Linked DNA regions of Homo sapiens: all the other regions are linked to region 4. Evidence: promoter capture Hi-C in 16 types of primary human blood cells and fetal thymus (Javierre and others, 2016). All regions are on one chromosome and are shown on one strand. The core of a region is centred on a gene start or on the middle of the fragment in contact, and the rest is flanking DNA. Distances in the headings are between cores, read along the strand shown.

The links. Contacts are between HindIII fragments. The CHiCAGO score rates a contact against its expected background, and 5 or more counts as called.
Region 1: a contact is called between a fragment that was not itself captured here and the fragment with the promoter of SLCO4A1 in region 4, in 9 of 17 cell types (naive CD4 T cells, total CD8 T cells, naive B cells and 6 more). The highest score is 8.6, in naive CD4 T cells.
Region 2: the fragment with the promoter of CABLES2 here is called in contact with the fragment with the promoter of SLCO4A1 in region 4 in 3 of 17 cell types (endothelial precursors, M0 macrophages and M1 macrophages); the score reaches 6.3 in endothelial precursors.
Region 3: a contact is called between the fragment with the promoter of TCFL5 here and the fragment with the promoter of SLCO4A1 in region 4, in 3 of 17 cell types (naive CD4 T cells, monocytes and non-activated CD4 T cells). The highest score is 5.9, in naive CD4 T cells.

Annotation. Positions count from the first base shown.
Region 1 is chr20:62,811,383-62,814,082 of GRCh38, forward strand. It overlaps OGFR (opioid growth factor receptor), which reads left to right. Exons shown (of 7, transcript NM_007346.4): 6 at 80-228; 7 at 848-2,618. The coding sequence ends at 2,267. Among named protein-coding and RNA genes, the nearest start is that of COL9A3, 4.3 kb to the right of the region's middle. The HindIII fragment of the contact is 7,148 bases long and covers 1-2,700 here.
Region 2 is chr20:62,405,994-62,408,693 of GRCh38, forward strand. CABLES2 (Cdk5 and Abl enzyme substrate 2) reads right to left here and starts at 1,292. Exons shown (of 10, transcript NM_031215.3): 1 at 922-1,292. The coding sequence starts at 1,283. LOC105372709 (a long non-coding RNA gene) reads right to left here and starts at 901. Exons shown (of 2, transcript XR_936967.3): 1 at 1-901. RefSeq lists a silencer at 1,209-1,458. The HindIII fragment of the contact is 20,791 bases long and covers 1-2,700 here.
Region 3 is chr20:62,860,566-62,863,265 of GRCh38, forward strand. TCFL5 (transcription factor like 5) reads right to left here and starts at 1,257. Exons shown (of 6, transcript NM_006602.4): 1 at 459-1,257. The coding sequence starts at 1,105. LOC105372717 (a long non-coding RNA gene) reads left to right here and starts at 870. Exons shown (of 4, transcript XR_936989.4): 1 at 870-976. RefSeq lists silencers at 676-825, 1,326-1,515, 1,566-1,665 and an enhancer at 1,050-1,704. The HindIII fragment of the contact is 6,144 bases long and covers 1-2,700 here.
Region 4 is chr20:62,641,159-62,643,858 of GRCh38, forward strand. SLCO4A1 (solute carrier organic anion transporter family member 4A1) reads left to right here and starts at 1,345. Exons shown (of 12, transcript NM_016354.4): 1 at 1,345-1,395. LOC124904949 (a long non-coding RNA gene) reads right to left here and starts at 1,179. Exons shown (of 2, transcript XR_007067711.1): 1 at 495-1,179; 2 at 1-188. RefSeq lists a silencer at 833-1,782. The HindIII fragment of the contact is 5,977 bases long and covers 468-2,700 here.

The DNA of each region.
Region 1 (2,700 bases), core at 1-2,500, 170 kb after region 4:
GGGACCCACGGCCACCCCCACACTCAGGAACCGGGGCTTCAGGGATGGTGCCTGAGCTCTCCAAGGGGGTCTTTTCCAGGTGTTTAAAAGCTCCCAGGAGATCCAGGAGCGGCTTGTCCGGGCCTACGAGCTCATGCTGGGCTTCTACGGGATCCGGCTGGAGGACCGAGGCACGGGCACGGTGGGCCGAGCACAGAACTACCAGAAGCGCTTCCAGAACCTGAACTGGTGAGGCCCGGCTGCTCCCGCCCACCCCCACCCCGGCGCAGAACAGGGCCACGTCAGGTTTCGGGCAGGTCACAGAGCGCTGCTGCAGACGGAGAACTCCAGGGCTGTTTGGGCAATGGACCAAGGCCCTGAGTCCCCTCCTTGCTGCCTGTAGAGCCGGGCGGTCCCTCCCCGATAGGGTTGGTGAGAAGGTAAAGAATGCTCTTCCTGCACCCAGGAGGTGGCAGTCCACATAGAGAAGCAAGCAGGGGTGATGGAGAACCTGCAGGCGGTACAGCCAGTTCTCACAGGGTGTTCGAGGCGCCTGTACCCTGCAGGGGCCCCTTGTGGCTCTCATCCAGCCAGCTCCTCCCCACCAGGGGGACTCGGGGTACAGCCACCCTCTAGGTGATGCGTCAGCATCCCCCTAACCCCCGTGTGTCTAGGGCCCACAGGCCATTTTCACAGGGATGGCATGAGTCCTCCCCTGGGCCCAGAGAGGTAAATGGAGAGAGAGACTGAATCGTGGGCCAGGGTGGGGAGACCTCGTGGAGCCGGGTGGGAGGGCAGGCCAGGGCGGGGTGCGGCCCAGCAGGAGGGGCCCCAGCCATTGACCTCTCCTGACCCGGATCTCTCGCAGGCGCAGCCACAACAACCTCCGCATCACACGCATCCTCAAGTCGCTGGGTGAGCTGGGCCTCGAGCACTTCCAGGCGCCGCTGGTCCGCTTCTTCCTGGAGGAGACGCTGGTGCGGCGGGAGCTGCCGGGGGTGCGGCAGAGTGCCCTGGACTACTTCATGTTCGCCGTGCGCTGCCGACACCAGCGCCGCCAGCTGGTGCACTTCGCCTGGGAGCACTTCCGGCCCCGCTGCAAGTTCGTCTGGGGGCCCCAAGACAAGCTGCGGAGGTTCAAGCCCAGCTCTCTGCCCCATCCGCTCGAGGGCTCCAGGAAGGTGGAGGAGGAAGGAAGCCCCGGGGACCCCGACCACGAGGCCAGCACCCAGGGTCGGACCTGTGGGCCAGAGCATAGCAAGGGTGGGGGCAGGGTGGACGAGGGGCCCCAGCCACGGAGCGTGGAGCCCCAGGATGCGGGACCCCTGGAGAGGAGCCAGGGGGATGAGGCAGGGGGCCACGGGGAAGATAGGCCGGAGCCCTTAAGCCCCAAAGAGAGCAAGAAGAGGAAGCTGGAGCTGAGCCGGCGGGAGCAGCCGCCCACAGAGCCAGGCCCTCAGAGTGCCTCAGAGGTGGAGAAGATCGCTCTGAATTTGGAGGGGTGTGCCCTCAGCCAGGGCAGCCTCAGGACGGGGACCCAGGAAGTGGGCGGTCAGGACCCTGGGGAGGCAGTGCAGCCCTGCCGCCAACCCCTGGGAGCCAGGGTGGCCGACAAGGTGAGGAAGCGGAGGAAGGTGGATGAGGGTGCTGGGGACAGTGCTGCGGTGGCCAGTGGTGGTGCCCAGACCTTGGCCCTTGCCGGGTCCCCTGCCCCATCGGGGCACCCCAAGGCTGGACACAGTGAGAACGGGGTTGAGGAGGACACAGAAGGTCGAACGGGGCCCAAAGAAGGTACCCCTGGGAGCCCATCGGAGACCCCAGGCCCCAGCCCAGCAGGACCTGCAGGGGACGAGCCAGCCGAGAGCCCATCGGAGACCCCAGGCCCCCGCCCAGCAGGACCTGCAGGGGACGAGCCAGCCGAGAGCCCATCGGAGACCCCAGGCCCCCGCCCGGCAGGACCTGCAGGGGACGAGCCAGCCGAGAGCCCATCGGAGACCCCAGGCCCCAGCCCGGCAGGACCTACAAGGGATGAGCCAGCCGAGAGCCCATCGGAGACCCCAGGCCCCCGCCCGGCAGGACCTGCAGGGGACGAGCCAGCCGAGAGCCCATCGGAGACCCCAGGCCCCCGCCCGGCAGGACCTGCAGGGGACGAGCCAGCCGAGAGCCCATCGGAGACCCCAGGCCCCAGCCCGGCAGGACCTACAAGGGATGAGCCAGCCAAGGCGGGGGAGGCAGCAGAGTTGCAGGACGCAGAGGTGGAGTCTTCTGCCAAGTCTGGGAAGCCTTAAGGAAAGGAGTGCCCGTCGGCGTCTTGGTCCTCCTGTCCCTGCTGCAGGGGCTGGGGCCTCCGGAGCTGCTGCGGGCTCCCCTCAGGCTCTGCTTCGTGACCCGTGACCCATGACCCACAGTGCTGGCCTCCTGTGGGGCCACTATAGCAGCCACCAGAAGCCGCGAGGCCCTCAGGGAAGCCCAAGGCCTGCAGAAGCCTCCTGGCCTGGCTGTGTCTTCCCCACCCAGCTCTCCCCTGCGCCCCTGTCTTTGTAAATTGACCCTTCTGGAGTGGGGGGCGGCGGGCAGGGCTGCTTTTCTTAGTCTGATACCAAGCAAGGCCTTTTCTGAATAAATTCATTTGACTTTGAGTCTTTGGTATGGACCGGGGTCCTGTTGGGTGGCTGGTAGGGCTGGTGTCACAGCTGATGTCCCTCCAGGCTCCAGTGGCCT
Region 2 (2,700 bases), core at 42-2,541, 240 kb before region 4:
CTGGACAGGCAGGGCTCATGGTTGGGGTTGCCCTGGGATGGGCTGAGGTGGTTCCCAGAAATGGAATCAAGGCAGGGGGAGCAGTGGAGACCCAGGGTGTGACAGACCCAAAGATACCGAGCTGAGAGTGATGTGGGGAAGGGCGGGGCTCAGCAGGGAAGTGACAGGGAGAGGAGGGGTGCCAGAGACCAGTGGCTGTGGGATGGGAGATGTGGCTGTGCAGGGGCCTCTGGGAACAGGTGTCAGTGACAGTGCCAGGAGGACCCCGGCCCACATGCTGGGTCTGAGGAGGTGGGCATGGACGGTGTGGCCCGGTTCAAAGAATGCGAAGAGATGCACAGGGCTGTCCATGTGTCCCTGTGTCCCGGGCACTGGTACCAGTGGATGGGGGTGGGGGCATGTCCAGAACCCACAGGGCTGGGGGTCTCAGGGGTAATAAGGGCTGAACCCTAAAACCCATTTCAGAGCACTGACAACGTGGAGATCCAGACCCCGTATTCAGGGGCTGGGAGAATTCAGGGGACAATGAACCCTATGTGTGGGGGGTGACAGGGCCTGAGGAAACCCTCAGCCAGCCCAGGAACCCCCAGTTCTGTATCCAGGACTGACAAGGTCCCAGGTGAACCCAACCCCTGTGTCCTGGGCTGATGAGGGCCCAGACTGACCCTGACCCCTGTGTCCTGGGTTGACAGGGGCTCAGGTCACCTGAACCTCTGTCCAGGGCTGACAAGGCCCCAGGTGAACCCAACCCCTTTGTCCTGGCCTCTGTCCAGGGCTGACAAGGCCCCAGGTCACCTGACCCCCTTGTCCTGGGCTGATGAGGCCCCAAGTAATCCTGACCCCTAGTCCTGGGCTGATCCGGCCCCCGTCCCCGTCCCTGTACCCCGCGTCCTGGGCTGACCTGGCCGGGCCCCCACTCACCTCTGGCGCTGCCCATCCAGGCCGAGGCCGGTGGGCACCTGCGTGGGGCTGAGCAGGCCCTGGGGCGCGGGGGTCCTGGCGGGCAGCCCGGTGGGGGGCTCCGGCGGCGGCGGCGCTGGCGGTTCGCGGGCCTCGGCGGGCGGCGGCGGGGGCTTCTCTCCGCCCGGGCCCAGGCTCGGGGGCCGCCCGTCCAGGGAGATGTTGTTGAGGAAGAAAAGCGCGGCCTGGCGGCGCCGCGAGTCCCCGCGCCTCCGCAGCGCCTGCGGCGGGGCCCGAGCGGCCGAGGTCGGCGCGGCGGGTGGCGGGGGCCCGGCGGGGCCGGGGGCCGGGCCCGGGGCTCCACCGGCCGCGGCCGCGGCCATCCTCAGACTGCGCCCGCCGCCGCGAAGCGCCCCACCCCCTGCCCGCGCGCCCGCGCGCCCGCCGCCCATTGGCCGCGGCGCGCCCACATGCAAATGTATCGCCGTCGCGCTCTCCCATTGGCCAGCGAGGTGCCGCGCTCAGGGCGCTCCCCTGGGTCCTAGAGGCGGTCGGACGCAGCAGCAGGGAGTCGGGAGCTGCGCGCCTCCCCGCCGGTTCGAGTCCCCGTCTTGGGACCTGCGGCCGCGGGGCTCTCGCTTTCTGTTCCCTTTGCTGTATGGCGGCCTTCGCGGATGGCCTCCATCGAGCGCACATTTTAAGGCTCCGGACCCAGGGCGGCGTGGGTGAGGCCCCAGCACACTTCCCTGTCCGGAGGTGTGTCTGGGCGGCGCTTCAGCGGGCGCAGGGCGGCCCCTGGAGGAGCCCCACCGCTTCCCGGAAGGGCCCGCGTGCCATCTGGCCTCCTTCATTGACAGAAGGGAACGAGGGTCTGAGTGGAGAAGGCACCTGCTTGGGATCAAAGCCCCAGGCAGAGTCCTGCACTTCCTGCAGTAGCAAAGTGACCTTGAGCCTGCCTTGTGCCCAGGCCTGTTTCCTCTCTGTGCCTGGGTGCCCCTGACTTCAGAACCTGTGAGCCCGTGGCACCGGGATGGTCAGGGCCTGCCTCTGGAGCCCGGGAGCCTGTCTGCAGTCTGGAGGGGAACCCGCTGTATCTTTGTGGAGGGACTCAGGACCTTGCACCCACCTCTGTGTCACCTGCCTGCTCTGTCCAGCTTTCTTTCATGGGTTTACGTATCTTTAAAGAGGGGACAATGATTTCAGCCTCAGGGTACTGTCAGGATGAAACTGGCTCAGTGAGGGGGTCGGGCTGTGGCCGGAGGCCAGGCACATGCAGTGGTCAGTCCGCGAATGCGCTGCAGTACCTCGCACCTGCCCGCATGCGCCCAGCCTCTCCTGTGCTGGGTGCTGGGGACCCGGTGGGACCGACAGGCACAGCGCTGGCCCTAGGAGCACCTGGTGTGTGGGGAGGCAGCATGATGGCCAACAAGGCAGTGGGCGAGTGGGCAAGACAGGGTCTTCATCACCACCCCTAGCATGGGCCCCTGCCCTTCAGGCCCCTACCCACCTCCCGCCTGCCTGCTCCCTCCTGTGGGCCTTCACGGGCCACCATTGGGGCTCACGCAGCATGCAGCACCTCCATTTCCTTTCCCTCCGCCCTTCCAAGTTGGCCTCCAAGGCCTCTGCCAGGCCTAGGGGAAGGTGGGCAGCTGTCCTGTCTAGGAGAACGCGGGGCTGGGTGGCATAGCAGAGGGGTGGCTGCGGATTCTGGATCCACAGAATGGGGTGCTGACTTGTGTGCCTGGGGGCTCCCGTGAGCGGGGAGTGAGTGTGTCCAGCGCTGTAGGGTGCTGAGGCTGG
Region 3 (2,700 bases), core at 7-2,506, 220 kb after region 4:
ACGATGGGCAACTACAGGCTGGGATGAGCAGAAAACTGCGGACGCAGCCCCTTCCACAGCCATCCCTGAGGGTCGCCAAGGGGGCGGCTGCAGGCTGGAGCCTCATTTTAGAGCTCAAAGCCTGCAAACCCCCGTCGGGCCTTCCTAGGCTTCCCTGACATCCAAGAGTGCCACCCGGAGCACATGGTTCCCAGGAATTCTGCGCGCTCGGCCCCACTCCAGGCGGGGCCACTGAGGGAGGGGGTGTTTAGTTTCTGGAAGTACCTGCTCCCCGGGGCCCGCACAGCGCACACAGCCTTTCGGGGCGGCCCCAGACCCGGTGAGGTCCGCGCCCTGTGCCGCCGGGAGGGCAGGCTGGGGGCGTGCACAGCGAGGGCCCCCTTTGCCTCCGCCCCGGCCCCGGCCCCGGCCTCGGCCTCCACCCGGGCCCCGCCAGCCCCCGGCCGCCGGGCACGCACTTGTTGAGCGCCCCGCCCGGCTCGGGGGGCTCGGGGCCGCGCGGCGCGGGCGGCGGCTCGGCGGGGATGCTGTTGAAGCGGTCCTCCAGGCGGACGCGCACGGCCGGCTTGGCCCGGGCCTCGGGCGCGCCGTCGGGTCCAGCCGCAGCCGCAGCCGCGCCCGCGCCCTCCTTGGCGGCGCCGTCGGCCCGGGCCCTCGCTCCGTCCCCGCCGCCCGACGTCTTCTCCGCCGCGCCCGCCTCGCTTAGCAGCATCATGCGCAGCTCCTGGAAGTCGATGTGGCCCAGGCAGGGCGCGTCGGCCGCCAGCGCGGACGGGCACAGCACGGGGTACACGGGCGCCGCGCCCCCCTGACCGCCCGCCGCGAAGCCGCCCGCGCCTGCGCCCGGGCCCGCCGCCGCCAGCAGCGCCGAGTTGAGGCGCGTCTCGAGCTCGCCGTCAGCCGCCGCCTCCATGTGCGAGCAGAGGATGTGCTGCAGCTGCGTGTACTCCACCTCCGTCATCTCCACCAGGCTCAGGTCGGTGGTCGTGAAGCTCAGCCCCGGCTCGCCCAGCGCCGCGTCCCCGCCGCCCGCGCCCTCGACGGCCGCCTCGCCGCCTGCCGCGCCTGCCTCCGGCGGCGGCTCCCGCGGTCCGGGGCCCGACATGGCGGCGCGGCGCGGCCCAACGGCGGCGAGGGCGACGCGGGCGGCGGGCGGCGGGAGGCGGGAGGCGGGAGGCGGGAGGCGACCCCCGGCCCGAGCACTACTCTGCGCCGGCCACAGCCGGCGCGCCGTTGGGGGAGGGAAAACCGCTGAGTGCCGCGCACAGCGCCTGCGCCGCCCCGCCCCGCAACGGCAACCCCACCCCTGCGCCAGCCCCGCCCCCTCCGTTACCCGCCGCCGCCGGCCCCGCCCCCGCCCAACCGCCCGCACGCCCGGCCCCGCCCCACGTCGGCGGATGCTTGCGCGGAGGGCCCGCCCCCACGGCCCAGCCACGCCCCCACAGCTAGGCCACGCCCCCAGCTCAGGCCACGCCCGGTTCCCAGCCACGCCCCTGCTGCCCGGCCACTCCCCGCTGAGGCCCGGCGAGGGCGGCTGCGCTGGAATCAGCGTGATACCTACGCGGTGACACCCTGGGGAGAAGCCACGTCCGTGCGTGCACGTGCGCCCCATTACAGCGGCAGGAATGAAGACGTTGTCAAAACAGCTCCCTGGACCCACAGTCCACAGTGCCCAGGCCATCCGCTTCATCCGCGTAAAATGCGCAGCGCATGGCCGGGTTCTGTGGCTCATGCCTGTAATCCCAGTACTTTGGGAGGCCGAGGCAGGTGGATCAGGAGGTCAGGAGATCGAGACCAGCCTGGCCAACATGGTGAAACCCCGTCTCTACTAAAAATACAAAAATTAGCTGGACGTGGTAGTGCGTGCCTGTAATCCCAGCTACTCGGGAGGCTGAGGCAGGAGAATCGCTTGAACCCGGGAGGCGGAGGTTGCAGTGAGTCGAGATCTTGCCACTGCACTCCAGCCTGGGCAACAGAGCCAGACTTCATCTCAAAAAAAAAAAAAAAATGCACAGCGCGACGGTGGTGGTACATTCCCAGCGCTGGGCCCGCCTCCACCGCTGCATTCACCACCGGTCTCCTGTAGCAGTCAGCACACTGCCCCTCCCCCGCCTGCAGCCACTAATCTTCTGTGTCCAGGAGTTTGCCTAGGCTGGGCCTTCCCTGTTAAGGGAACTATGCAATATGTGGTCTTTAAGAGACTTATTTTTGCAATCTTGAAATAATTCCTGTACTTAACCTCTCACCCACATTCCCATCTCACTCAGTGGTTGTCTGTTCTCTGTCTAGGCATTAGGACACTTAAAGGCCTGTGACTTGCACATCGTCTTCTAAGCCGGGTCTGAATCTTTCGCTCATTTCATCACAGTTTAGACACAGACCAATATATTACAATGATTCAACGATGGGCTATGAAAGCTCAGCCATGCAAATCTAAACTCACACATGTATACATGAAAATAATATATCAGTTTTGGGCAAAACATCAGGTTTCAGAAAACACTACCAAGGAGGAAAGCAAGGACTTAAAACTCTCAAGGACATGGCAACAGAAGTCGTCTAACGTAAAACAGAGAGGGAAGGCTAAGAGAGTGAGCAGAGCATCAGTGAGCTGTGGGGCCGCTTCAAGCAGTGTGATTTGAAGTCCCCTGGGGGTGGAAGGATGGGGAGAAAGACATTTTAAGAAGTAATGATTGCCAG
Region 4 (2,700 bases), core at 95-2,594:
GGAACAATGTGGGTACTTTTTTCTCTTAAAGGGCAGTGTCAGGAATGAAAGCAGATACCCAAAAGCAGTGGGTCTCGTGGCCTCGTGTCTGCTTCCAGAAGTGGAGGGCGGCCTGGGACGGCGGGAGCCCTGAGGACACCACCGGGGGGGTCCCGGGACCTGATACGAGTGGGCAGGAGCCCCAAGCCCTGGAGGAAGGAAAACCATTTCATAAATAACTGCATGGGGTTGTGGGCCTTTTCTCACAAGCCGCAGCACCTCCTTCGTCTCTCCACGGTGAACCCGCCCGCCACGCTATGCCACCAGGCCAGGTCCTGCAGCACCGCCTCCGTGGCTAGGACTTCCTCACCAGCCTGGGGCCGTGAGGTGGTCATTTCCCCCCTTACCTGACTTATCTCAGGATTCACACACACACACTTGACTTTCGGAAACTTCTTTTAAATTAATTTCACTGACACTAAAAGGGAAGCTTTGTGGAGTGTGATTGTGGTTACCTGTTAATACTTGGCAACAATTATGAGCCCTGATATGAGCCAACTTCTTCCGTCTTATCCCCTTTGAGGACGCTCTGTTATCGCCCCCATTTTGCAAACGAGGAAACTGAGGCTCGGAGGCCTGGAGCAATGTGTTCCAGGACAGACGGCAGGAAGCCGGGGTAGGAATTCCAACAGGGAGTTCCCTCTGTGGAAGGGAACGTGGCTGGCACCTCCCTGCCTTCCACCCTCAGAGCTAGTGTGAAAAAGAAGACGGGGTTATGGAAAAGGCAACGGGCTGGAGATTCCCCGGATTCCCAGGCTAGGGCGCCGGTCTCACTGTGCGCGCAGGTGGGGCGCGTGCCAGAACAGGGCCTGGGGGTCAGGCCGAGACCGGCGGGCACCTTCACCAGGGCCGCCCGTGGCGTTCCCCCAGCCCCTCTGCCGCGGGCCCCACGTGGCCCCGACCCTGCGGCAGCCTTTCGGAAGGGCGGAGCTGAAAAACGGCCGCTTGGCTCCACTCGGCCCCACAGCGCCCAGGAGCGAATCCCGAGTCCGTTCGGAACCGCCTCGCCGCGTGGCCTGGGGCGGCGTCGCCACCGCGCGTTCTCGGCCTCCCGGCTGCGGCAGCGATGCCGGTCCTTGGAGCTGGAGCGGGGAGTCCAGGAGGCGGCAGCGCTCCGGAGAGAGACGCCCTGGTCCCCCGCCGCGCGTTCCCGCCTCTGTGCCCTGGGGGGGAGGAGGGGGCGGTCGCCGCTGCCATTGGCCGTGGGGGGTGAGGCGGGCCCCGCGCAGGAAACCCCGCCCCTCCCTCTGCGGCGGGGGCGGCCCCAGCGGATGAATGAAGCGGCGCGTGGCTGCCGGGGAGGCCAGAGCGTGGAGCGCTGCGCGGCGCGGCGGCCGGGCCCTCGAGACGGGGACGGTGAGTGCGCGGGGAGCGGGGAGCTGGCGCGGGTGCACAGGGCCCGACCTGCTGGCGTAGGAGCGCGGCAGGTGCCGCCATCGTGGGCAGGGGCTGGAGCGCCGGGGGGATGCGCGCGGGGGCGGGAGGCCTGGGCACCGGCCGAGCGCCCCGAGCCTCTCCGCGGGGGAGGGCAGGACCGAGCGGAATCGGAGGCCAAATTCGCCGCTTCCCGCCGCCGGCTGCGCAGGTAGGAGCTCCCGAGTCGCCCGCAGGAGGACCGAGGCGAAGGGGCCCCACGCTGCAGCGGGTGCCGGGGGGAAGCGGGTGAGCAGGGGCTGCGGCCCTGGCAGGGACTGTCGGAGTGGCCGGGGCAGGTGACCTGGGCAGGTGGCCCGGAGCGCGCGCAGGCGCAGGCCCCACAGATCCAGCTGGGGACGAACGCGCCTCCGCGGAGCTCCAGAGTTGCGGAGTCACCCACCTGCGGCGGCCGCTGCTGCCGAGTCAAGGAGGAAACCTTCATGCACGGAAGTTTCTCGGGGGCGGCCGGGCTTTGTTCGCGCCAGAGGCGCTCGAGACATCTCCGGGAGGGGAGCGCGGGCGGAGCGCACAGGGCTAGTTTCCAGCAGCGGCGGCGCCCCTTTCCCTGCCCCACCACGCGACGTCCTGGCCGTGGCTTGGGGGGACCCGGGCGCCCTCCAGGTGCAGGCAGAGGGTCGGGTGCCCTCGCGTTGCTGTTGGGCTCCCCTGACCAGGGAGGATGGAAAGGAAGGAGCAGGCAGGCTTAGCTGCCCTAGACCGGCCCTAGACCGGGAACCTGGAAGCAGATCTGACTTCCACTTCCAAGGGAGAAACCGCCTCCCGCACTGGCGCCCCGAGGGGAGAGAGAAGCCCAGCTAGGTTTCCGCGTGGTCCGCGTGGTTGGTGAACCCTCAGGCTGGGGGGTGCCCCGCTTGGCGTGCAAGGCCCTCTTTGGAGCTGCCGTGGGACCTGGCTATGCGTCCTGTTTCTGTCTGGAGGCGGCTGGAACGCGGTAGTTTTCCACATCCATGCAACCAGCTTGTCAGCTGCTGCTCCTCAGCTGTGGTTTTTGGAACTTGGGTTACCTCCATCTAATCAGAAACTGGCTCTGCAGAGCCCGGTGTCAGCGACGTTTTCATTCCCAGCAGCGGGAGCAAATGGATCTCAGAGGACAGCTCCTTGGCCTTAGCCGGCTCCGCTTGTGAATCTGGTAATAATGACAAGGACAGTGACAGCAGGGGTTAGGTGTTGAGTGCTGGAATGTGCCGGGCATGGTACCCCTGCTTTGAGCATCGTCTCATTCAG